Regions from separate parts of the Homo sapiens genome. Here regions 2, 3, 4 and 5 are each linked to region 1. Evidence: promoter capture Hi-C in human tissues and cell types (Jung and others, 2019). All regions are on one chromosome and are shown on one strand. Each heading gives the region's core, a stretch centred on a gene start or on the middle of the fragment in contact. The rest is flanking DNA. Distances are from core to core; before and after follow the strand shown.

Evidence for each region. The method cuts DNA at HindIII sites, captures the fragments that hold promoters and counts their contacts. A contact is called where the count stands out against the background at its distance.
Region 2: a fragment that was not itself captured here is called in contact with the fragment with the promoter of ONECUT2 in region 1 in 1 of the 25 tissues and cell types used here (mesendoderm cells).
Region 3: a contact is called between a fragment that was not itself captured here and the fragment with the promoter of ONECUT2 in region 1, in 1 of the 25 tissues and cell types used here (mesendoderm cells).
Region 4: a fragment that was not itself captured here is called in contact with the fragment with the promoter of ONECUT2 in region 1 in 1 of the 25 tissues and cell types used here (H1 embryonic stem cells).
Region 5: a contact is called between a fragment that was not itself captured here and the fragment with the promoter of ONECUT2 in region 1, in 2 of the 25 tissues and cell types used here (heart right ventricle and mesendoderm cells).

Annotation. Positions count from the first base shown.
Region 1 is chr18:57,433,781-57,437,498 of GRCh38, forward strand. It overlaps ONECUT2 (one cut homeobox 2), which reads left to right and starts at 1,594. Exons shown (of 2, transcript NM_004852.3): 1 at 1,594-3,164. The coding sequence starts at 1,937. RefSeq lists enhancers at 320-900, 901-1,480, 3,595-3,718 and a silencer at 1,474-1,523. The HindIII fragment of the contact is 18,346 bases long and covers 1-3,718 here.
Region 2 is chr18:57,061,652-57,065,281 of GRCh38, forward strand. The region is part of intron 2 of LINC-ROR (long intergenic non-protein coding RNA, regulator of reprogramming); the gene reads right to left. Among named protein-coding and RNA genes, the nearest start is that of LINC-ROR, 8.7 kb to the right of the region's middle. RefSeq lists enhancers at 39-928, 3,027-3,562. The HindIII fragment of the contact is 5,495 bases long and covers 1-3,630 here.
Region 3 is chr18:57,043,266-57,046,764 of GRCh38, forward strand. It overlaps WDR7-OT1 (WDR7 overlapping transcript 1), which reads left to right. Exons shown (of 3, transcript XR_001753461.2): 2 at 695-932; 3 at 2,531-3,499. Among named protein-coding and RNA genes, the nearest start is that of WDR7-OT1, 5.0 kb to the left of the region's middle. The HindIII fragment of the contact is 5,427 bases long and covers 1-3,499 here.
Region 4 is chr18:57,110,517-57,114,188 of GRCh38, forward strand. No RefSeq gene overlaps it. Among named protein-coding and RNA genes, the nearest start is that of BOD1L2, 35 kb to the right of the region's middle. The HindIII fragment of the contact is 5,562 bases long and covers 1-3,672 here.
Region 5 is chr18:56,983,884-56,987,559 of GRCh38, forward strand. The region is part of intron 26 of WDR7 (WD repeat domain 7); the gene reads left to right. Among named protein-coding and RNA genes, the nearest start is that of WDR7-OT1, 54 kb to the right of the region's middle. RefSeq lists an enhancer at 2,789-3,638. The HindIII fragment of the contact is 3,040 bases long and covers 585-3,624 here.

The DNA of each region.
Region 1 (3,718 bases), core at 344-2,843:
AACCTTTCTCTGGCACCAAGAAGGGACATACAGTATTCCGAGCTCTGCCCTTGTTTTCTTATCAAGTTTTCTCTAACAGCTGGAAGTGGTTGAAGGGGGCTGTCTTAAGGAGACCCCCTGCTCTTCTTTTGACAGCTGATCAAAAGAAAATAGGTCACGCTTCTCAAACTTATGTCCACCCTGTCCTTAATTACTGTCTCTTTAAACAAAGGCAACATCTGCGCAACCTCAGCTAGCTTGAATCTTCGGAGGCAAACAGAGCGCAACCTGCTTTGGAAGAATCTTGTTACGTTTAAGGCTTTATGCCGGGTGTTGGCCTCTCTGTCTTCAACTACCCCTCCACCCCGACTCGGACTGCAGAAATCTCCAACTCTCTGTCCCCCAGTTCCACTCCCACCTCCAGACCTGGGGTTGCCAAACAACGGAAATTCTAGGAAGACGTAGGTGCGGTTTTTAAAGCCTTGGCTTGTGAGCGTTCTCAGGCTGGCCGGGGCGCTGGTCTTTTCAGAAACAAGGTTTGAATATGCAGGTGTCAGCCAGGATTCCTTGTCGTCTGCCCACCGCCGTTTCTCTCCCGGGATTTGAGAGAAGCGGGAGTGTGTGTGTGTGTGTGTGTGTGTGTGTGTGCGCGTGTGTGTGTCTCGTGTTAGGAGAAAGGTCCGTGGTTGCCGTCTCAGCTGGTTTGCTTACTCTCTGCCCCCAGGAGAAGTTTGCTCACTTGGGACACCAGCGACCCTCCTCACCTCCACCTCACCGGTTCTACACTCTCCCCACTTCTTTCCAAGTCGCTGATGCAGAAAGCACTTGGTCACCTTGAAACGGCAGCTCCCGGAATTCTAGTTTTGTTTTGCAATCTAGCAGGGCTCTTCGGAAGCCTCATAACTGAGATTTATGGGCTCACCGGGTAATTAAATGATGTTATTGTGTTAACTTTGCATGCATTACTGCTGCCCGCGCCGCCCGTGGGCCGCCGGCCGGCCGCAGCTCGCTGGCGACGAGGGCACTACAGTTGCTCTGACCGCGTAGATTATGCATGTCCCGGCCTCGGGAATTTACCATGCATTAGAATACATTAGCGCCTGCATTTTAAAAGGCTAAACTATTGGCTCCCAGCTAGGGACTCTCGGTAAGTGGCTTGTTAGTGACGAGTGTTTGTCTATACTGGCACATAGCGGAGTCTTTTGCTCCCGGCTTACTCGCCTCCAGGAAAGCTTTGGGGTGAGGCGAAGGCGATTGAAGCAATGCCCCTTCCCCCAGATCGCAGCTGCTCAGGGGGGACACAGCACGGCATCTTTCACCGAATCTCTCTCGCTCGCTCGCACTCCAGCCTCCCTCTCCCCAGCGACCCCCCCACCTTCTCCTCCCTCCCTCTCCTTGACGTTTGATTCCAGTAGCAAAGGAGGTAAAAAAGGCACCGAGCCGTCAGCCAAACCTGAAAAGTGCGGCCCCGCCCCCTCCACAGCCACTGGTAGCTTCCCGTGGAAGGCCCGCCTCCCGGGGCAGCTGCGGCCTCGGAGTGGTTGCGCTTGGCGCCCGTCGGGCGTGGCCCCGCCCCAGGTCCGGGAGGGTAGGTTGGCTGCCCCGGCGAGCGGCAGAGCCCTTCTGGACAGCTCCCGCTCACCCAAACAGAAGACGTCGGCGCCGGAGCGGGCTCGGACATGGCGAGGCTGCGAGCCGGCCCGAGCGGCGGGGCCCGGTGATCCCTCCCTCCCTCCCCGTCCCCTCCCCTCTCCCGCACGCACGCCCCGTCCGCCCCCACCCCGCCCCCACCCCGGGCGAGCCCGCCCGCAGCCCGGGGCGCACACCCGCACGCGCACTCCTCTCCACTCACTCCCGCGCCCGCCCCCACTCCCGCAGCCGAGCCCCGCCACGCGCGCCTTGCCCGCCCGCCGGCCGCCCCCGCCGCCCCCGCCGCCCCCGGGCCCTGATGGACTGAATGAAGGCTGCCTACACCGCCTATCGATGCCTCACCAAAGACCTAGAAGGCTGCGCCATGAACCCGGAGCTGACAATGGAAAGTCTGGGCACTTTGCACGGGCCGGCCGGCGGCGGCAGTGGCGGGGGCGGCGGCGGGGGCGGCGGGGGCGGCGGCGGGGGCCCGGGCCATGAGCAGGAGCTGCTGGCCAGCCCCAGCCCCCACCACGCGGGCCGCGGCGCCGCTGGCTCGCTGCGGGGCCCTCCGCCGCCTCCAACCGCGCACCAGGAGCTGGGCACGGCGGCAGCGGCGGCAGCGGCGGCGTCGCGCTCGGCCATGGTCACCAGCATGGCCTCGATCCTGGACGGCGGCGACTACCGGCCCGAGCTCTCCATCCCGCTGCACCACGCCATGAGCATGTCCTGCGACTCGTCTCCGCCTGGCATGGGCATGAGCAACACCTACACCACGCTGACACCGCTCCAGCCGCTGCCACCCATCTCCACCGTGTCTGACAAGTTCCACCACCCTCACCCGCACCACCATCCGCACCACCACCACCACCACCACCACCAGCGCCTGTCCGGCAACGTCAGCGGCAGCTTCACCCTCATGCGCGACGAGCGCGGGCTCCCGGCCATGAACAACCTCTACAGTCCCTACAAGGAGATGCCCGGCATGAGCCAGAGCCTGTCCCCGCTGGCCGCCACGCCGCTGGGCAACGGGCTAGGCGGCCTCCACAACGCGCAGCAGAGTCTGCCCAACTACGGTCCGCCGGGCCACGACAAAATGCTCAGCCCCAACTTCGACGCGCACCACACTGCCATGCTGACCCGCGGTGAGCAACACCTGTCCCGCGGCCTGGGCACCCCACCTGCGGCCATGATGTCGCACCTGAACGGCCTGCACCACCCGGGCCACACTCAGTCTCACGGGCCGGTGCTGGCACCCAGTCGCGAGCGGCCACCCTCGTCCTCATCGGGCTCGCAGGTGGCCACGTCGGGCCAGCTGGAAGAAATCAACACCAAAGAGGTGGCCCAGCGCATCACAGCGGAGCTGAAGCGCTACAGTATCCCCCAGGCGATCTTTGCGCAGAGGGTGCTGTGCCGGTCTCAGGGGACTCTCTCCGACCTGCTCCGGAATCCAAAACCGTGGAGTAAACTCAAATCTGGCAGGGAGACCTTCCGCAGGATGTGGAAGTGGCTTCAGGAGCCCGAGTTCCAGCGCATGTCCGCCTTACGCCTGGCAGGTAAGGCCGGGGCTAGCCAGGGGCCAGGCTGCTGGGAAGAGGGCTCCGGGTCCGGTGCTTGTGGCCCAAGTCTGCGCGCCGAGTCACTTCTCTTGATTCTTTCCTTCTCTTTCCTATACACGTCCTCTTTCTTCTCGTTTTTATTTCTTCTTCCATTTTCTCTTTCTCTTCCGCTCTTCCCCTACTTTCCCTTCTCCCTTTTCTTTTTCTTTCTTACTCTCTCCTTGTCCCTGAGCTTTCATTGACCGACCCCCCCCCATTTCATTCGCCCTCCCCTCAATGTGCCAACCTTTGCCCTATTTCCGATCTTCCCAGGTACTGGGAGGCGGGATGGGGGTGTGCGTTTTCCTCTAGGAGCCCTGTCTTTCCAAGACCCACAGAAACCAGGACCTGCCCTTATTCAAAACCCCATGCACTTCAAGTCTCTTTTAGACAACACATTTCAATTTTCCGGGCTGACTAGTCTCCCTGTGCAGAGGCAGTTGAGAGGCTTTGCTCTGCAGAGGGAAAAGAGCTCTCTACTCTCCCACCCACCATATAGGCAAACTTATTTG
Region 2 (3,630 bases), core at 845-3,344, 370 kb before region 1:
CATTTTACAGATGAGGAAACTGAGGCCAGAGAAGTTTACACAGCCAATCAGTGCTAGAACTGTGATTGGAACTCAGGGGTCTGGATCTTCAGCGGTTCCAGTCTTCATCCTCTAAATGCCACTGGTATCTCCTCTACCAATTGTTGGGACAAGAAACACACTCCCAGAAATTTCTCCCCAGCCCATGGGAGCAGTATGTTCCCCACAGGCCCTTTGCACAGTTCACAGATGGACACATGGCCCCCAGGGAGCTGGGCCTGCTGGGGCCACCACCTAGAGCCCCAGGTTTACTAACCCTGAGCAGGGTCAGGGATGGAGTGGGTGCAAGGGGGCCTGCAGGAAAGGGAAAGGTGAAGGGAGGAAGAATTTGGAGCCTCCTTGTGCGCCATTTCGCTGTGCTTCTAGATGCTTTCATGGCGGGCTGGGCGTTTGGCTGAAGTGGTGGCTACAGATTTCAAGGTGTTTTAAAGGCTATCACCCAGACTCCGGTCAGGCACCAGAGAAAATAAAAACGAAACCCCAACCCCAAACCAAGCCAATCTCCTGTTTCTGGGTCTGAGGGCTCCAGGGGATTTCAGAGGATGAGGGCACATCTGAGGTCCTCGTGGTCATCTTGTTTCCTGGCTAACTTCGCCTCCTTCCACTCCACTCTGATCCTTTGGGCCTCCCCGATCTCCCTTAACCCTGAGTTCACCCCTGAGCCCCTTCACCCTCCACTGAGAGGGGCCCTGGCCCCTGCATCTCTTCCTTCTCTGGCTCTGAGTCTCTGTGATGTGCCAGTGCTGTGCTCCTGGCCGCAGTGTAACAGACCTTCTGGCCTGTCTTGAATTTCCTGCACTCAGGATATACAAAGTTGGAGTTGAGATGGTGGATGAGGCATAGCTCACAAAGAGTATTAGTTCTCCCATTAAAATGGGCAGCTGTTTAATTTCATGCCAACTCATGATGGCATTTTCCAGAACAGAAAAAAATAAACAGAAAAAAAAAGAGAGAAACAAAAACCAATGCAAGATGAGTTTCCATTTGGAAATCAAATATGTGTCCATTTATTTGCACCTGAGATTCTAGAGGCAAAGGAATTCCAAGCTTCGCTAGTGGACCTTGAGTTTTCCCTCCCTACTCACAATGACTACAGGGGCTCTGGGTGTCACTTTGAGACCTGGCTTCAGCCCAGGTGTGCTATGTCTGCACAGATGTGCTGTCTCCTCAACTGCTTCCACACCCTGCTGCACCCCATGTGCCGCTGCCCAGGAGCCGGCAGAGCCCCAGCGGGCCCTTTGTCACTCGCTACCCAATGTGCATTCTCCAGTGGGCACAGCAGGCAACCCTGCTCCGCGGGCCTCTGCCCGAGCCAGGGATTACGGGATGGGCTTGCCTGCAGTGGCAGATGGTAGTGCTTAGAGCTAAACTGCATTTGGCGCTTTGAACATCTTGAAAAGATTTCTTTAGAAGTTAAACTTGGCTTAGGAGTGACAATATGTTTCAGTCTGTGTCTTTGAAAAGGCCTCAGGGTGGTGCGAGGGGGGTTGGCTGTTTCATGGTTCCCTGCCTTGTCTTGGCTGTTTTCCACGGAGTCCTGTTTCTCATGGGTCCTGCAGTCACAGTGGCTTCTAAATTTTGGCTCCATTGTTTGGAAGTCACATTTGTTTCTGTACATGTGCTGTGGGAAAGGCCACACTGGCTGTCCTGCAAGGACACATTTAGATGCCTCTGGGCAGTGGGAGAAGCGCATGCCTTGGGGCACACATGGAGGCAGAGGGCGTTGTGTCCTGCACCAGGGCTGAGTTTTGCTGTTGCCCCTGCTTCAGCCTATCAAGGGGTTGACAAGCATCCGGGCAGGGTTTGGGGTCCCAAACCTTTTGGCATCAGTGAGGACCAATTGACAGCTTCTTGCCTCCTGGAGCTCATGGCTAATTGCACTGGAATAATACCCTCCAAATCCCCATCCTAGGCTTGTCCTATTTAACGAATCCTTTGGGGGACAAAGGGTTTGATCATCTCTGAGCTCAGATAACATCTCTCTTCCCCATCCCACAATTTTCCCATCCTCAATTTGGCCACTGTAAACTCTGTCAGGAAAAACCCAGCCTTCCTCCCAAGGAAGGCACCCAGGAGCACCTTCTGGGGTGAGTGAAGCCCTGAAATTGGCAGAAAGGCAAGGCGAGTGTCCAGCTTGCATGCCAGGCTGGCCAGTGCATCTCTCAGTGGCTTCTGCAGTCAGAGCAGGCTCCATTGACCATTCATGAGATGTCAGGTGGTCTACAGATGGGAACACAGCATTATTGATTTTTACTAGCCTGCTAAAATGGAAGGGAAAATACCCTTCTTAAAAGCTCCCGGTTAAGCTTTGTTTCCTAAATGGTGATTCCAGGGCTCTGAGTTTGTCAAAGGCAAATTTAAAATAACAGGACTGTTGAAGATATAATAAAATGAAATCTTCTTACAGCCATTAACTTCAGAGAGGAGATCTCTGACTCAGGCTTGGAGGCTAAGGGGGAGAGGGAGAGAGACCCACAGAGTGGGGGAAGGGGGAGAGAGGAAGCTGAAAGAACAAAACCAGCAGCTCTGCCCCTCATGGCAGCCCCTTTGATAAGATCGGATGTGAATGTAAAGAAATGAATTCCACCTTCTCTAAATTGACAACAGTTCCCTGGCCAAGCAACGACGGGATGTGATCAGGGAGCACTGGCCTGATGGGCCCCCACCAAGTGCACTGACTTGGAAAATGGGGAAAGTTGGGGGTCAGGCGATGAGCTCTGGGGGAGGAAGCTGGAGAATGAGGAGGCTCCAATTGCCCTACCACTATTACTTATTTAGATGTTGTTTCTTGTTCATCTTCCTGAGAGCTCTCGTAGTCCCAATGACTGGAACACAGATGAGGACACGGTCGTGTCTGCAGGGGTGTCTGCACTTCCAGTTGGCTTGCTTGGATGTGTGTGGTTCTTGGAGCCATCTTGGGTGATTTTCCTCCAAATCTTTGACATTAGGGAAAGCCTTTCATGCGCGTCCGTGTGAAGAGACCACCAAACAGGCTTTGTGTGAGCAACATGGCTGTTTATTTCACCTGGGTGCAGGCGGGCTGAGTCCAAAAAGACAGTCAGCGAAGGGAGATAGGGGTGGGGCTGTTTTATAAGATTTGGGCAGGTAAAGGAAAATTACAGTCAAAGGGGGTTTGTTCTCTGGTGGGCAGGAGTGGGGGGTCGCAAGGGCTCAGTGGGGGTGCTTTTTGAGCCAGGATGAGCCAGGAAAAGGACTTTCACAAGGTAATGTCATCACTTAAGGGAAGGACCGGCCATTTACACTTCTTTTGTGGTGGAATGTCATCAGTTAAGGCGGGGCAGGGCATTTTCACTTCTTTTGTGATTCTTCAGTTACTTCAGGCCATCTGGGCATATGCGTGCAAGTCACAGGGGATGCGATGGCTTGGCTTGGGCTCAGAGGCCTGACATTCCTGCCTTCTTATATTAATAAGAAAAATGAAACAAAATAGTGTTGAAGTGTTGGGGCAGCGAAAATTTTTGGGGGGTGGTGTGGAGAGAGAGAATGGGCGATGTTTCTCAGGGCTGCTTCGAGCGGGATTGGGGCGGCATGGGAACCTAGAGTGGGAGAGATTAAGCTGAAGGGAGATCT
Region 3 (3,499 bases), core at 775-3,274, 390 kb before region 1:
CAGAACTTAAGGTATAATTAAAACAAAAACAAAAACAAAAACTAAAAAGCAAAGTGTGGTCTGGGCACCAGCCGCATCCATATCCCCTGGGAGCTATTTAGAAATGTAAAACCTTAGGTCACACCCAGACCTCCTGGGTCACAACTGCATTTTGGCAAGCTTCCTGGATGATTCGTGTGCACCTACAGTTTAAGAAACACTTCACAGGAGTCCATGTGGAACCTCACAGGTGCTGTTGATAGTTTCATTAGGCACCAGGCTGGGACTGGCTCTGGGCACCACCATTCACTGTGTCCCAAGGTGGAAGCCCAGGCCTCTTGCACAGGGGTGCACTAAGGTATGCTGCTCCCCATCAAAAGATTGGCCCAAGCCCAGATCCTAAAGCCAATCTCTCTGGGGCATCTGTTTTCCCATCTGTATGACGGAGGGGTTGGAAAGGCTGATGTCAGAAGACCAGTATGGCTTTATCATGTGTTTGGTTTTTGTTTGAGGGGGATTGATAGGATGATTTCTGTCCATGTTCATGTTCATGTTCCAGAAACATGGTAGGTTGAGATGAAAAGGGCATGACAAGAACCACAGCAGCTTCCAGATGAGGCTAGTGTATGGAGATGTGAGATTCGGGATGTTTCATTTTACATAGATCATATTCTGTAAGGTTATTCTTCTAGTTCTATGTTTCTTTGCATCATAGGAAAAAGGAATCGGATCCAGGGAAAACGCTGTACCACTGGGGCCCGGGTGCCTTAAGTGGTTTTCTGATCAACTCCATAGAATCAGAATGTCAGGACTACAAGTCATCCGTGTCCCTGCAAAGGACATCTCATCTTCATTGATCATCCATGGTGCTGAGCATTTAAGAGGCACCAGGGATGTAACTTTGAATCAGAAGAGACCTGGTTCCTGCCCTTGTGGAGCTTACATTCCCGTGGGTGAGACAGATAAAGAGCAGTAGTTATAAGCAAAAGGGGGAAAGGAAGATGCGGGGGTAGGGAGTGGTTTGCAAGAGGAGTCAGGTCACACAGGGTTGGTGTGGGATGGGGCATTAACAGGAAGAGAACACTATGAGATTTGTGTTTCGAAGAAACCATTGGCTGATGTGCGAGATTGGAGAGGAGTAAGAGAAGGCATGAGGAGACCAATTAGGAGACTACTACAGCTTCCCCAGAGGGAGATGACGAAGGGAGGGCAACTGCTTCCATTGCAGGGAGCGAGACCCAGCCCCAAAGAAAGCAACCAAGGATGAAACTGAGAACTGGGGTAGAAGGTACTGACACCAAAGTCCCAACCAAAATAGTTAAAACCGGTCATCCCTGGCAATAGTACTGCAGCCAATGGAGACACTGTTACTGAAGGACTGTGTGGCCTTGGGCAGGTTACTCCACCTCGCTGGGCCTTCTGTTCTTTCCTTGAAAATCAGAGGTTCAACCAGATAATTACTGTATGTGGTGACCAGATAGTTTCTTGTCCTAACTGGGACACTTTTGAGGGCGAAAGATGGAACAATTAATAATTACCCCAGGACAACAGACATAAACCTAGCCAATCCTGGGAAAACTGGGATGAAAATCCCTGACAATCAGAGCTCAGAACCCAAATGAGCTCCCTCCAAGTTCAACACTCTGTTTCTCAACAATTCTTTTATAGATTGGGAGCTGAAGTCAACTCATTTGTAACCAGAATTAAATAGATTCAAAGTTCCTGCTGAACTGAACTCCTGGCTAAGAACCCTGCAAGCATCCTTTCTACTCCCCAGTGCATTGAAAACCCTATTTGTGGTGAAAAGAGGCCCTGTTTTAGCCTCGAGAAGGGTGGAATTGCTGGTGAATGCAAGGACTGGCAAGGGGGTCAGCCTATCTCTGATATGGATGATGCTGTGCATGCACCTGTGGGGTCATGGGTGGAGGGAAGGCAGATGGAATCAGAATGCCCCCAGAGCGGGACTGTTGACTATGTCCTGGTTAGACCCAAGTCTCTCAAAAAGTCATCTTCTTCTTTTATGAAGACATGTAGCATAGCCAGTTCATTCTAGTTGGAAAGGCAACTAGGATTTGGAAATAGGAAATTCAGATTCAAGTCTCAGGTCTGCATGCTACTTCCCTGCTGGTGACCTGGACAAATCACTTTCCTTACTTAATCTCCCATTTTCTCAGTAAATATAGATAATGCCACCCTCTTGAGACGTTGTAATTAGGATAAAATCAAATCAGTAATATGAAAGTGTTCAGATAATAGAGAAAGTTTTTAAATAAACTCTTTACTTTGAAATAATTTCAGACTTACAAACAAGTTGAAGAAAGAGTTCCCATGTGCCCTTACTCAGCATCCCAAACGGTAACATGTGACATAATCATAGTTCAAGAATCAAAACTGGTGAATTAACATTGACCAATACTGTTAAACTAAGCTACAGACCTTAAATGTTACCAAATGTGTCAGCAAATGTTCGTTTTCTGGTCCAGGATCCAATCCAAGACCCCACAGTTTCTTTGATTCTGATACCAATTGAGACTCTTCTCATCTCTGACAGGTCCTCAGTCTTCCTTTGTCTTTCATGACCTTGACACTTTTGAAGAGTACAGGTTAGTTATTTTGCAGACAGTCCCAATTCAGGATTGCCTGATGTTTCTTCATGATTAGATTCAGATTGTGCTTTTTTTTTTGCCAGGAGACCACAGCAGTGACATTGTGTCCTTCTCAGTGCAGTGTATCAAGAGGAACATGATGGTCATTCCTGGCAATGTCCACTTTTATCACATGATTAAGGTAGTATCTGTCAGTTTTCTCAACTATAAAATATGTAAACTATGATTTTTTTCCTTTATAATTAATATGTGTCTTATGAGGAAATGCTTTGAGATTATGCAGAGACACTGTTCCCCATCATACATTTTTGCAGTAATTTTGGCAGCCATTGATGATTCCTGCCAGTAATAATCATAGTGGTGGTTGTTATGCAAATGGTGAAGCCGTTTTAATTATTGCTTTTCTTACTTTTAAGGTCTGGGGCAGGGATGGCAAGTTCCAACCACTTGGTGGTGGCCTTCTGGAACTCTATGTGAGAACGATTGTGAGGTCAAGTTCTCTTAACAGGGGAAGGATTGTGAGGTCAAGTTTTCACAACCTGGTGAGGGGAGGTGGGAAGGGAGCAGACAGGTGCCATATTGGCAATTCTAGGATGGTCCCTTCCCCTTTGGAGAGATAGATCTTGCCTGTTGGGCCTTCAGGCCAACACACACTAGCCTCGCTAGAAGGAATACTGCCTGTGTACCTCCTTCTTTCCTCCTTTGGGCCTACTTTGTTCTTCTGAATGGCTGAAACTCCAAGGCACCATGGTCTGCACAGATGGTAACTATGGTGCCAGGTGTTCCACAAGGAAGGGCAGCTTGTGCTAGGCTCTGGATTAGCAGGGCTGGGGCTACATTCACTTCCTCCCCAAGAGGCCCTATCTTTCTATACCAGTATGTAGTTTCTCTGATGAGATCAGCATGGAAGCCAG
Region 4 (3,672 bases), core at 333-2,832, 320 kb before region 1:
GTGCTGCATCAACAGCACACTGGTTATCTGCTTTAATAGGATGCAAACAACATTGTCAGGTATCAGATAAGCTGGGCTGTGAGTCAAGCTGTCATATCGTAAGACAACTGAATTGATTGGTGTTTGGGTTCTCATTTTATTTCCAATGGGTGAGGAAAATAACCACAGATGCTTGTCCATTTCTCCTGTCTGCAAGGGATTACCACATTCCATAGTTTTTGGGTTACCCTTTGGGGCTTTGACTGGGAGCTCAGTATAAACCTGTCTGATCATCTAGTCCTATAAGAAGGTACATTCTAGCTTCAGTGACTCCAGCAATCTGTGATGTGCTGCCCAATATCTTACAACAAACTCCTACCCCCCCTTGGAAAAAATAAAAGCCCAAACTTGTAGAACTTCCTGATTTCCATGGTGTAGATACTCCCATCAATTTCAGTTTCAAGCTACCAAGATGATATCACTGAATGTAAAGCTGGGAAGGTATGTGCCAGTCGGCTGCCATGGGCTGGTAGTAGCTGGTTCCAACACAGCGCTGGCAGCAATCCCAATACATGCCCACAGCTAAATGTTTTTGTGAATTGGGGACAGAAATGCCATCCTGATCCCCTGGCTGTTGTAAGATCAGAGTGAGAGTATCTATGTGCCTGTCTTTTGGTGCCTTTAGGGACAGGTATCACTTACTAATATAGTTTGGCTGTGTCCCCACTCAAATCTTATCTTGAGTTGTAGTTCCCATAATTTTCATGTGCTGTGGGAAGGACCCAGTGGGGTGGGACATAATTGAATCATGAGGGCAGTTATCCCCATGCTACTGCTCTCATGATGGTGAGTAAGTTCTCACGAGATCTGGTGGTTAAGAGGCTTTCCCCCCTTTTGATCAGCACTTCTCCTTCCTGCCACCATGTGAAGAAGGATGTGTTTGCTTCCCCTTCTGCCATGATTGTAAGTTTCCTGAGGCCTCCCCAGCTCTGCAGAACTGTGAGTCAATTAAACCTCTTTCCTTTATAAAGTACCCAGTCTCAGGTATGTCCTTATTAGCAGCAGGGAGAACAGGCTAATACACTTACCTTCCTAGGCACCAAGCTGGGGCCTGAATGGCCCCTTTAATTAGGGTGACCATATATTTTATTATCCTAACAGGAACACTTTTGAACTAAAAGGGGATGATATTAATAATTATACTAGGACAACTAGGGCTGTGCCTGGACAAGCCAGGACAATGTGGTTACCCCCTTCTAAAGCAAAATGTGAACATAGTAGCAAACAAGCCATATATCCATTGAAGCCTCCTCTGTATTCTGCATCCCTGAAGTTGGTGCTCTGCCCGTCTGGGAGAATGGTGCTAGAGTCTCCACTCAGCCTGTGGCTGCCGCCAGTCTGGGAGTGGGAGGGTCTGCAGAGCTCATAAAACTGTATGAGTTTTTAGGCTTGCAGCTTCCCTTGATGCATATTTCCAACCACTGCAAGTGTCCCTTCCTGTCTAAGCAATTGTGTCAGCAGCTAAATGCTTTTCTTGTTGGTCTCAGTCCAAACTTCCATTCTTCTCATAAAAAATAAGAAATATATAAGATTCTATGGGAGAAAAAAAGAATCCAGTAAATAATCCTCTACGTACACCACTCTAAATTTGCTTCCAGCCCTTGCTGATGAGTGTGCAGACATAATTATTGATGGAGTTGTAATCCATGTGTGCAAACTATTGGGTGTTGTACTTGTTTCCATTTAGCACTATTTCACATACTTATTTCCATATATTGACACAATCCACATGCTTATCATTTTTTATGGCAGCATAGTTCTCCATCATGTTGACACACTCTAGTTTTACATCCTGCTCTCCAAAGACAAAATGCCATGGCTTCATGAAAACTGGTATTCATGAATGCAGGCCAGCAGGGAAAGCTCTGGCTGGCTGGCAGTGTAGAAGGAGCAATGGTGGGTAGGGAATCAAGGTCTATCTGTAACTAGTGCTTTCTTTTGGAACAGAATCACTGTGACATGTGCAGATGTTCACTGTGACATGTGCAGATGGGGGCACTGAGATAATTATATTTTTTTTGTGTGTGTGTGGTCAAATTCAATGTTAACACTCACCAGTCTTTTGCTTTTATAACCTTCAGCTCCTCAAAGTCCCAGACACAAAAACAAGCCACACATCAATAAGCATATTTAACAAAGGGGCAGCTAACATTAATGTAGGCGCTGGGGCAACTTCTAAGTAATGCCTAGAAGAATGTAGCCATTTAAATTATGTAGAGCAGGATGAAGTCTTCCAACTCTTCCTGGCTTCTGAGGGACATCTAGCTGCCCGGGTGGTTTTTCAAAGGCCACCACCGCAGAAGGTAGTGAATTATGTCCTGGAGGTACAAGCCTTAGGATGAGGGCTTGGCTTAGGGCCCCAGCCTGACAATTCACTTCCTGTTCATTCAGAGTCCACCCTAGCTTGGGCTATTGATTTGAATGGATGTTGCTTTTGTTGTTGAGGAAGATCAATAAACAGTGTAAGGGAAGAAGGTTGCACTTAAGTGCAACCTTTGGCCTTGCACCTATGGCTGAGTTAGTTAAATTTGATTATCTTCTTGTTGGGATTAAAGTCTCTTCTTCTGTGTAACAAACTTGCTTATTTGGAGGGTCTAGAGGAGAGATTTGACTTACTCCCCATTGTGCTTACTGTACGTCAGCCTCTCTTCTAAACATTTAAGGCACATGAGCTCATTAATCGTCACAACAATTGTACAAGGTATGTGCTATTACTCTCCCCATTTTATAAATGGGGAAACTGAGGCATGGAGAGGTTAGGTAACTTGTTGAAGTCACAAAGTTAGCACATAGCAGATCTGGGGTTTCAACCCTAGAGGTTTGGCACCAGGGTCTATGCCACATTCATCTACCACACTCCTCTAATGAAATTCCAATTATTTCACCCAGAGGAGGGCCTGGTGTCCCTTCGTCCTTGGCTCTCTTTGGCCCCGGGCCACACCAGGTCATCTTCAGCCTCAGAGGAAGAGCCACAGATGGGATGGGCTGATAGCATCCATCCGAGCCATGTGAGTTGAACAACAGAAAACACAGCTAAAATGATTAACCCCAATTTTTCCTCTAATTTCCTCTCTAAATAGATTTTTCCCCTGCTGATGAAATCTGTCTCAATTTGGTGGTGAGTGGGTAGGTAGGAGAATCTGGATTGATTTGGTATTAGAAAGTCTCACATGTCTGTAGGGAAAAATATAGGGGGTGGATTATTCTTCCCAAATATAGTAGGGAAACCACAACTCCTATCATGTTTTATCCATCCAACCAGCCATCCATCCACCCACTCATTTGTCCATTATTCATTTGTCTATCAATCAGTCAATCTATTTATCTATCTTTCTACCTACCTACCTACCTACCTGTCCATCATTTTCACAGGAGGTGGTAATAACAGTGTTGAGACCACTAATCAGGATGCTGCCTGCTGTGTCATCCAGCCACAGCCCTGTTTATGGCCATCATAAAATGTCTGTGGATAGTCCAGCAGCTGATTTTCCAGGGTCTTTTTCTACTGTCTGAAGGATCAGGAAAAAAAATCTATCAGCTGGAGAAATTAAGCCATTTTTCTTCAGGGGAGAGAAATGGAATAGCAGGCTTTCCACATTAAAATGCTGCAGTGGATTCCAGATGAATGAAAAA
Region 5 (3,676 bases), core at 855-3,354, 450 kb before region 1:
CTAAATTCACTTACATGCCATTTTACACAATTGCAGTTTTTTCTTTTTTCATTTCTTTTAAATATTGTAACAATAGAAACATATTACACTTCTTCCTATGACATATTTGAGGAATGTTTACAGTTATCACAGTCTTGAGCTAGGACACGTCCTAATGCTTAAAGATACTATTTTATCCGTTTGAAAAAAAGAAGAAATTTTAATTGTGAAAAATAAGAAATAAACCTTAAAAATTTTCACTGTCCTATTTTCTTCCAGCACCTTTTCTTCATGTTTCATGAAAGATGGCTTTACATAGTAACTTAGAAATAACACCCAATGATTAACAGAATGATGGATGTGATGAATCACCTTTCTCTTGAGAAATAATAAATCAACATATTCCTACCCATAAATTTTTACTGAAATGTATGAAATATTAGCATCATATATTTAGCAAAGTGTCAGTTACAAAAACTGTTGGCAAAATGTCCTCAGAACCAATAGAATACATTTAAATGTTATGTTCCTTTTTTGGAAACAAAGTTATTCAAATATAATTCACACTTTCTAAAATGTAGCATAGTTTTAGTTCTTATTTACCCTTCTAATGATAAACATGAGCATGATCTGTTTGAGCACTAGCAATACTAGACACCAAAGTTAACAAAGTAAAATCTCCCAAACTGGAATGTTTTACTCACAAAAAAACTTGGTTAAACTTTGATTTTAATATTATAAACTAGAATACTTCATAAGACCATGTTTGCCCTTTTTTATATTTAAGTCATTATGTCTTAATCCCTATTTATGCAGCACTTTTTAAATGAAACCTTCCCCTGGGTTCATTTTTGGGCAGACTTTATATTGAATTGTGTTTGGATTTTTTGGAAGCCTCTTTGAAGGATGAATTTGTGATTGTTAGTTGCACAACCAGTTTCCTTTATTTTCATTTTGGGGGCGGTTTTCCTACAGCAGCCATAGCGTACTGTGGGAAGTGGAGCAGGGCAGTGCCCTTCCCTGGCTGTATTGATTTGCCCTTCAGCTGTGTGCAGTGCCGAGAGAACCTCGGGCCTTGTTGTTGATTATCTACACAATGTCTCTGGGAGCATTATTGACCCATTGCTGCCGACTGCCTGTGGCTCTTGATTTTTCACACCATCTCCATGACACTCATAATAAAACATACTATCTTATTGCTACTCAGCTCTGGGAGCCAACTGATTCAGCCTTAGAACACCACAGTGTTTCTGGAGAACATTTATTGTATGTGGGGTAAAGTGTTGCAGCAATTTTAGGATTCTGTCCTGTGTACTTTTAATAGCTACTTCTATAGCAAGATTCCACACACTGCTAAATTTTTATTGTCTTAAAAAAGCCAGTGCTAGCTTTGCATATATTGTCAACATGAAATTTAGCATGATTAATATAAATATTATACTTTTAAAATAATAGGCTAAGGAAAAGAATATTTTGCATTAACATTAGGCTTGACATGTTGCTATAACATGTATTTTCAAAACCAAATTTTAAAATATATCACAAGGATTATGCTATGATTTGTTACTGTGGTATATATTTGTTATAGTGAATGGGGAGGAGGTGGGGGAAGTTGAAGTTTCTGATTGTATTTGATTAGTATGTTTCTAATTTGCCATTCTCAAAATGTCTTCCAAGATACATTTTAACTTCTCTATATCAAGTACACAAAATCAAGTAAAATCTTTCCTCTTAGTTACCTTGAAATATTTTTTTAATTGAAGCTTTAATCAGTGGAAAATGGGTCTCCTTGAGCATGTATTTTTGTTTTATATTGTTTTATATTGGAGGTTTTATATATTTTATTAATTTTTAATTATTTCTGATATATTTCCTAATCCACAATTAGCATTAACAGGTATTGTACACTAAGTATTGATGGAAATTATAGCATGTCAAAAGGAGCTCAGAGATCCTAAGAAACAGGCTTTTTCTGTTGGTAGAGTGAATAAAATGTACATGTTTCTTAAAGAGAGTTTAAATATTTTCATGTATATTAACTGCTGTTACTATAGGAAAGGCAATATAGCTCAAAAAGGGGCAATTACTCTAAATTTGTGTTGGACATTTTTATAGGAAAGATAGGTCACAAATTAGGTTAATATAATTGGTTGCTTTTTACTGAAGTTGTTTAGAGTGTTTTCATTAGAACAAAATTTTCTTTAACAAACCTACTTTAAATAAATTCAGACTTTGGAAATTATAATAGAGCTAATTTCAGCTTCTTTGTGTGTGTGTGTGTGTGTGTGTGTGTGTGTGTGTGTGTGTGTGTGTGTGTATACATATTCAACTTCATGATTTCCCTGAACTAGGGTCTGTTTCCAAAACATCTACTGTAATACTGATAGCGATATGTTCAATGATTAGTAGCTCACCACTTTAAGATGTTTAAAATTTTGACCATTTATATCAGTGAATTTTGCAATTTAAGAAAAGGATCTTGCTTTTAAACTGTGGTATTATCAAACTACCAACACTTTGACATTTTGAAATGATAATTCCTTTGTTCTGGTTTATGGATTTAGTTTTCATGTTTTATCATACTTTGATAGGTTTTATGTTTGAAGGATACATAGTTTTCTAAATGTATGCTTTTAAAAATGTCAAACCACTATAAAATAAGGATTTTTAAATTAAAGCTTTCAGAAGTGTGGCTTCAGAGGGTGGGGTGGTATATAGTATAGCCTTAGTGGGCTGCCTCTGGATGACAGATCTGTACAGAACCCCAGACAACAAAGTTGTCCCTAATTTTAATCTAGCTGCTTCTCAGCTGATTTACTTTCAGTTTATGTCCACTTGATGTAAACAGAACCCAATGACGGGGGAAAATAAAAAAAAAATAAAAATAAAAGGCATTCCACTTCTCATCCCTCCAAATTAGTGTTGTTCTATTGAATTAAAAAATTGAATCTCCTCATCATTTTTCATGCCAAATTCATGACATTTTAGGACACAGGATGAGAGTAGATGCCATTAAACCCTGTAAGTCTCAAGCAGAGGCCTTTTTTAAAATCAAGGTCCATAGGCTTAGGCAACAGTTCAGTAACCTTTGGGAAAACCACAGGGTGTGTTTTACCTATTGTTATGCAAACATTGTTCTTCCAGAGCTGACCTTTACTCACAGGGATTTAACAGCCATAGTAAGTCAGGGTTTGAATTCCCTGTGTCTGAGTTGCGGATCAAGTTTACAATAACCATGTTCACAATTGTTTTGAGCGCTTCCACCTGATGGTTTTTGATAGCATGAGGTTTGTGTTCCACTTAAGCCTAAGTATTTCAGTGTGTCTTTGGACATTCAGAACCACTTGAAAGTGTACACAAGGATTCCTCTAACTGAGACATAATCATCAGGTATTGCAAAGGTTAAGCCTTATCATCTGTACCAAAAAAAAAAAAAAAAAAAAAAAAAAGGTGAGGTTTCATCAAAAACTTCCATCCTCACAACCTTTCGACCACAATTTGATGATGATTATTGATTATCTCACAGCCTTTCACTCACGCTCTGCCACCGCGGCCAGCCCTGATATACAGATAGGGCTGCAGTCCAGCTAAAATAAGACTCCATCTTGATAATGGACTGAGATGAGGATACTGTTATTTGATAAAGATAATTGATGTTTCACAGTGAATTGGAAAGCAGCTTCAAGTGCACCATATC